Regions from separate parts of the Homo sapiens genome. Here region 1 is linked to region 2. Evidence: promoter capture Hi-C in human tissues and cell types (Jung and others, 2019). All regions are on one chromosome and are shown on one strand. Each heading gives the region's core, a stretch centred on a gene start or on the middle of the fragment in contact. The rest is flanking DNA. Distances are from core to core; before and after follow the strand shown. Region 1 overlaps GLI2 (GLI family zinc finger 2). Region 2 holds the start of GLI2 (GLI family zinc finger 2).

Evidence for each region. Contacts are between HindIII fragments. The study calls those that stand out against the background at their distance.
Region 1: a fragment that was not itself captured here is called in contact with the fragment with the promoter of GLI2 in region 2 in 3 of the 25 tissues and cell types used here (H1 embryonic stem cells, mesendoderm cells and thymus).

Annotation. Positions count from the first base shown.
Region 1 is chr2:120,820,600-120,824,048 of GRCh38, reverse strand. The region is part of intron 2 of GLI2 (GLI family zinc finger 2); the gene reads right to left. Among named protein-coding and RNA genes, the nearest start is that of GLI2, 86 kb to the right of the region's middle. RefSeq lists a silencer at 236-447 and enhancers at 1-743, 1,580-2,245. The HindIII fragment of the contact is 6,634 bases long and covers 1-3,449 here.
Region 2 is chr2:120,734,308-120,737,546 of GRCh38, reverse strand. GLI2 (GLI family zinc finger 2) reads right to left here and starts at 1,679. Exons shown (of 14, transcript NM_001374353.1): 1 at 1,262-1,679. It overlaps LOC124906073 (a long non-coding RNA gene), which reads right to left. Exons shown (of 3, transcript XR_007087219.1): 3 at 2,697-3,239. It overlaps LOC124907881 (a long non-coding RNA gene), which reads left to right. Exons shown (of 2, transcript XR_007087221.1): 1 at 1-986. RefSeq lists enhancers at 1-475, 1,594-1,763, 2,403-3,050. The HindIII fragment of the contact is 8,822 bases long and covers 1-3,239 here.

The DNA.
Region 1 (3,449 bases), core at 649-3,148, 86 kb before region 2:
ACCTGGTTCTTTCTTTGTTAAATAAAGTTAATTCACCATAGAATTCCATTAATTAATGAACTGCCTTTATGCCCATAAAATATGAATAATTTTGGTCCATGCATGGTTTTACAGGAATACGGCAAATTACACAGTGACGTGGAATGGCAGGGCCACCAGGAATGTGAACCCTTTTGTGGGTGCAGAAAGGAAACCCCTCCCTTGGCCTGCATGGTACTGCGCCTTCGCCTAGGCCTATCGGAATCCCACACGGCTTCACTTCCGCACATGCCACAAGCTCCCAGGGAGTGGCTCCATCTGCCCAGAGACATCCCCGGGACTCCACCCTGAGGCCCAGCTCTCCTCTCCACAGCCCACAGCCGGGAGATCTTCCCATAAGAGAATCAGGGAAGGATTCCGATCCCTGCCTTCCAATGCTAGGCATTCCATAGATGTCCCCAGGCTACCCACTTCTGTGTGCTCCCCACATCCCACAGCAAAAATGCTATAAGAGGGCAGATCAGAAAGAATGTCACATCACTCTCTCATCCTCTCCCACTAGCAGCTCCAGCCCGAATGCTCTGTGGTGTTAAAGCACACTTCAGCGTGTACTGGGCGAGTGATGTCCCTCTCTGCCTCCTCCACACCTGCCCAGGGACTGGAACCTGCACCCAGAAATGTGGGTTTACTTAATGATGGGGGGGATTTCTCCCCCAGCCCCACACACAACTCCAGTCCCTTCCCCCCACTGTATGGCTAAATTTATAGATTTGGGATTGCTGTAAATTATAATGTAATTATATCACACCGGGGGCAGCTTCCCACGGCAGAAATTAAAAAGCAATTCAGGTAAATGATCTTTAGCTACAGTGGAGCGTCCCTGCAGAACTCATTAAGTCCGGGACCAAACGGCATACCAAAGACGGTGTGCGGCCGCTGCATGTCAAACACAGCCTCGCCTGGGAAACACACAGCCGGGTGGCGGGGGGTGCAGGGGGTGGGAGCAGGTTCCCTGTTGGGATGTCCTTCATCCACCTCTCACATCCACCTCTGTGCACACCTGTCCAGGTGTCTCCTCCAATGCCCCCTCAGCCTCCCAGTCCTAGACCACTCCTGCAAGATTCCCCTTAGAGAAGGAAACTCAAGGTTGCCTGAGGAAGAGCTAGGGTAAGGGGCAGAAGATGGGTTCAGAGTGTACTGAAAATAAAATCAGATGGGAAATTTGCCATTTGGGTTGCATTCGTACCATTTCCTCTGAAGCTTTGAATTTCAAAAGCCCAGGGAGTTACTTTTGTGTGTTTTGTTGTTGTATTTTAACGTCCTTAATTGAACCTTCCATTGGAAGGGAAGTATGGCATGGAAAGAAAGAACTGGAAAGAAACATACTAACATGTGAGTGAGGGTCATCCTTGGGAGGTGGAATCAGGGAAGAACATAATGATATGTTCATTGGGCTTTTCCACAGTCATCACATTTTCAATCACTTTAATAATCAGAAAAATAGTAAACAGGTGATTTGCGGAGGCATTTCCATTTGCTATCCTTGTGACCTTCAGCCACATGCAAAGGGGTGGAATGGGGACAGCACCATCTCTCTTGGTATTAATTGTGTCAAGTTCATGCAAGGACCCTGTGAGGGTCAGGATTCAGGGAACACAAAGGTTCTGGAGCCTTAGGGCCCATCGGGCTGTTTCCTAACACGCTTCTGAAAAGGTCATTTTGTCCCTGTCCCTTGAGCTGGACCCGCTGTGCAGGGCACTATGCCCATAGCACACTGCTGGGTCCAGGGACCACAAGAAGGCTGCTCTAACTCCAGAGACACTTTGTTGAGTTTATCACCTTCCAGACACTGTTCAGTGCTTCGCTGATAACAGCTCACTCAACCCTTGTAACAATCCTTGCACCCGAAAGGATGCTGCACAGACAAGAACTCCAAGGCCACAAGAGTTCACAGCCTTGCTCTAGGTCTCGTCCAGCTATCACTGGCATAGCAGGAACATGAACTCGGCCCACCGCCCGGTCTTAGCCACCACAGCCTCACCTCCATGTCAGAGGTGTGGAACACAGCAAAGGCCAGTTGACAAGCAGCCTGGTGGCATCCCCAGTGCCACTTTCTCCCGGCCCCCGTGGAGTCAAAGGCAAACAGGAACACATAGTGGGGGCCTCGGGTGGCAGCCCAGCCCAGGGGAAAGGAGGCTCGGTGTGACCCACCCCACTGCCATCCAGCTGGGCGGCCCTGGTGAAGAGCCTCAGCATCCCCATCTGTAAAATGGGGTTGCACCTGCCTCTGGGGGTCGCAGCACAGGCTTAGGCAACCTCGTAAAGCACTGGTTGGGGCAAAAGGGAAAAGAGGGTCTTTCTGAGTCAATGTAATAGTCCCCAAGTCTATGCACAGGCACCTCCCCTCTGTTTATTAGAAAGACGAGAGGGTGAGGAAGGGCAGTGGACCAGGCTTACTGGTCACCAGGTGTCCCACTGAGAGTGCAGGTCCCCTCCCCAGGGCCCACCAGGCTCTCTCTTCCTCATCCTCACGTTTGATGAGGCTAGGCCAGGAGCTGGTTTACAAGCCCATCCGAGGATTTGACAGTCTCGGCCAGAATGAGACCAAACTCCCTCCTCAATGCTGAGCTACCCTTCTCTGTCGCCCATAAATGTCCGCCGGATCTGCTATTTCTTTCACAGTAGAAGTTCACCCAGTGTTCTGCTCAGCTGAGCCATGGGCCCATCCCTAATTTGGACATTTTTCTCCCAACATCCAGTCAAATAGGAAAACAGATCGCACACCAGGCCTTTGCTTGTCCTAGTAAACTCTATCCATGAAGCCTAGGGGCCAAGAACCCTCCTGGCGCATCTGCACCTTTGCAACTCGAGAGAACCTCCCCCGTACAGAGGCCCCAGGAAACACTGTCCCCATCAGGTCCTGGTGGCTGCGAGCTCAGCCGCCCACGCAAGACAGGCTGCCAGTCAGGGAGGAGCAGATCATCCCAGGCTTAGTGTTCTGGGCCCTGAAAACACTTTTTGCATTTCCTCGAGGAGGTGGGTGGGTCGGCCTTGGCAAGGCATCTGAAACCACCGGGAGGCCACACACTAGTTACTGAGTCGGCACATGGCAAGCCCTTCGAAACGCCTCCTGGTCACAGACAGATGAGAAAACATGTTCTTAAGCCACCTCAGCAAACTGCTCCTCTGGCCACTCAAGACTGCACCCCAAGTGGCATAGAGAAACCCTGGAAGATGCAGTGTGGCCCACATCTGCCTGCTCCGTGGCCACTGGAACACTTGAGTGTTTGTTTAAAGAAGTCAGTCCCCTTCCCACTAGAAAAAAAGCTACCCTCTCCAGCGCTCACTCTTTCCTTCTCCACTGAAGTTTTTGCCACAGCAGAAGGCTAACTCTCACAAAGAGAAGAAACACAGACACACAGGGTGTGCACACACGTCCACACACTGGCGTGGACAGCAGCCGTCCCCGC
Region 2 (3,239 bases), core at 430-2,929:
GGACGCCTACAAGACTCCCAGGGCGCGGGACCAGACAGTAGGGACAGGTCTACTTTTCCAGCTGGGATCAACTCTAGGAGCCACAGAACAATTACACAAAAGAGAAGGTAGTGGAAAGAGGCACCCTCGGGGGGGCTCGAGGTCCCCGAGAGCCTCAGCGACCGATCACCCAGGGTGAGGCGCACGGGCTCCATCCCCAGCTCCCCGCGCGGTAAAAGTCGGGTTTCCTAGGAAATGACAGCAGTTACCGCCGGGCTGAAAAGGCGCCGAGCTGGGTGGACTCCCAGCTCTCCAGCGCGGCGGGCGCGCTCACACTCACACACGCAAGCACACGCTCCCTCCCAGCTCCCCGCCCCCGCCCCGTCCGGGGAAAAGACTCCCCTCTCTAAACCCTTAATAGGATTGGCGCCCAACTCTCTCCGCGCCTCTCCCCATCCATCACATACAGATCAAGTTGCAGTAGTGGATTTTTCAAATTCCTCAGCAAATATACTTGTTGAGAGATTGTCGGGGGTGGGGAGAGACGATGAGTAGGGGGGCAGGGATGAAAGTGAGGTGGAAGGGGGAACCGGAGGACCCGGCAAAGGATTACGTGCGGATCCCTTTGGGAAGTCAAGCGGATCTCAGGGCCGAGGGCAGGAGAGGAGGAGAAGAGAGGCAAAGAGGGGGGGCCGAGGAGGAGAGCCCAGCAGAGGGGGAGGGGGCGGCCGGGCCGGGCGAGGGGGAGGAAGGATTGAGGAAGGAAGAAAGAAAGGCAGGGCTCCGGGACGCGCAGCGCGGAGAAGTGGAGTTCGAAGTTCTCAAGTGGCTGGCTGCAGCCCCTCCGCGCTCAGTACGCCCGCAGACACGCTCCCATGCCCACCTACGGCAGCTTCGGAGCATCCCAGCCTCCGATCCCACCCTCCACCCCCTGAAAAAACAGACCCCCGCCGGCGCGCGGAGGCCGGCTCGCTGTGCACCCCGAGAAGAGTGGTGCTCTCCCCCAGGTAGGGAGAGGGTGCAACATCGACCTCTGGCCACGAGCTCCAAGCCCCAGGACTCTCCTTACGTCCCCGCCCTGCTCGTCCAGAGCCCCAGGCGGGGTCGCGCCTACTAGCCTCTAGTCCCCCGAAGCCCAGGGCCCCGATCCCAAGGCCTAGGCGCCGGTACCCGGCCGAGGGACCCCCCGAGACGGCGCAGCATCCCAGTCGGCCCGCGCTTGGCCGAGGTGGGAGGCGCTTCGTCACGAAAAGCAAGCAAAAGAAGGCCAATGCAACTTTACCGAGAGAGACAAAAGTTTGCCTCTAGCACGCAGGTGGCCTCTCGGGCGCCGGGCGGTGGCTGTGGGCCCCCATCCCACCTTGGCTGGCGCGGCGACCCTCGGCTGGCTGCCTTGTGCCGGGGCTCCAGCCAGCCGGGGCGGGGCGGGCCAGGCAAGAGAGGGGACCGAGAGGCGGGCGGGCGCCGCGCAGCCCCTACCGCCGGCGAGCAGGCGGCTCCCCGAGGCTGCGGCGCGCCGCGCGGCCCAAGCTCTTTCCTCCGGCTCCTCCTGCGGCTCCTGGCCTTCCTCCGCGTTCGCAGTCGCAGCCGCCGCCGCCGCCCGCTCCTCCTCGAAGTCTCATTGATGGGAGTTTGAAAAAAAGTCCGCGGAGCCGTGCTGCCTCGGCTGGCAAGCGCCGGCACTTCTGCAATCCATCAGCGCCGCCGGACTGCGCAGCGCCCCCGCGCGCACGGTGCGGGCACACCCGGGCCCCAAGAACCCGCCAGCCAGCCCGCCCGCTCCCTGCCGGGGGACGCAGGGGGACCCGAACGCCGCCGGGGCGGGGGGAGGGGAAAGGGGGAGCACAGGGACTCTCCCCACCCAGCACCAAGGAAAGAAAACGCACCTACAAGGAAAGTTCGAGAAAGGAACCAAAGGACGCGCCAATCTCCGACACTTTTTTTAGACGACTAGGTGTGGGGGGGGGGGTTGGGGGTGTCGCTAACTCAAGTCAGATGAGCTCCGGAGCTGAGGGGCAAGGGCTGCTCTGTTTTCAATCTCTGAAATCCCCCCGCCCTCCCCACCTCCCACTTCCCTCCTCGGGGAGATGCCTGGGTCGCTGTTCCCAGGGCGCCCGCTTCTCTGGACGCCCGCGCGGAAGCCGGGGACGCCAGAGAAGGGACGCGGGGGCTGGGTCCACGCGGACCCTCTTCCCGCGGGCAGCGAGCGCAGGTGCCGGGGGTCCTGAGGCGTCCCCCGCCGCCGCTAGCCCTCGTCGCCATCTGAGCACACGCTGGCGAGAAACGAAGCAGCCTTCTAGGTTTGGTGCATGTGGCTTGCAGGGTGGGTTTTTGTTTTGTTGTGTTGTGTGTTTTAGAGACTCCACTCGAGCCGCTGAAGCCAGATGGAAGTAATCAGAACCCAACAACAACAGAGAAAGAAGGAAGAAAAAACTCCTCATTGAATTTTCTAGCCAAAGTGTATATGGGGCTGTGTGTGAAAGAACTTGCTTAAGCAAGCTCAGTGAGGAGCCCTGGGCCCTCAAGCCACACCACAGCCCGGAACTGGGCCGCCAGGCTTGGAGGAGAATTGGGGGCAGCTGGCTAAAGTGTCCTCCCCACACCCCCGGGCCTGCCACCCTCTCCAGGGCCCCTGGGCCTCACCCGAAGAGGGTCTTGGGGGGAATTTCTGGTTTTATTCTTCCTAACGTTTGTAGAACACTCTACCAAGTGCCAGGTGATGTTATATTTTCTTTGTATTATTGGACTTTCACAGCTCTGTAAGGAAGGTTCTCTTCTCGTGTTTTTACAGGTGGGAAGTCTGATGCTTTAAAAAGTTAAGTAACTAGTCTAAGGTCAGAGCACTCTGCCATCCTCCCAGAGCTTCGGGTGGTTGTACTGTAAGTTCAGTTAAATTTGCCCTGTTGGGCCGGGCGCGGTGGCTCACGCTTGTAATCCTAGCACTTTGGGAGGCCGAGGCACGGGGATCACCTGAGGTCAGGAGTTCAAGACCAGCCTGGCCAACATGGTGAAACCCCGTCTCTACTAAAAATACAAAAAATTAGCCAGGGATAGTAGCGCGCGCCTGTAATCCCGGCTACTTGGGAGACTGAGGCTGGAGAATCTCTCAAACCCCTTGGGAGATGGAGGTTGCAGTGAGCCATGATGGCGCCACTGCACTCCAGCCTGGGTGATGGAGCGAGACTCTGTCTCAAAAAAATAAATTAATTAAATTAAATTTTTAAAAAATTGCCCTGTTGAGGTGGGTGGAAGTGTCTCTC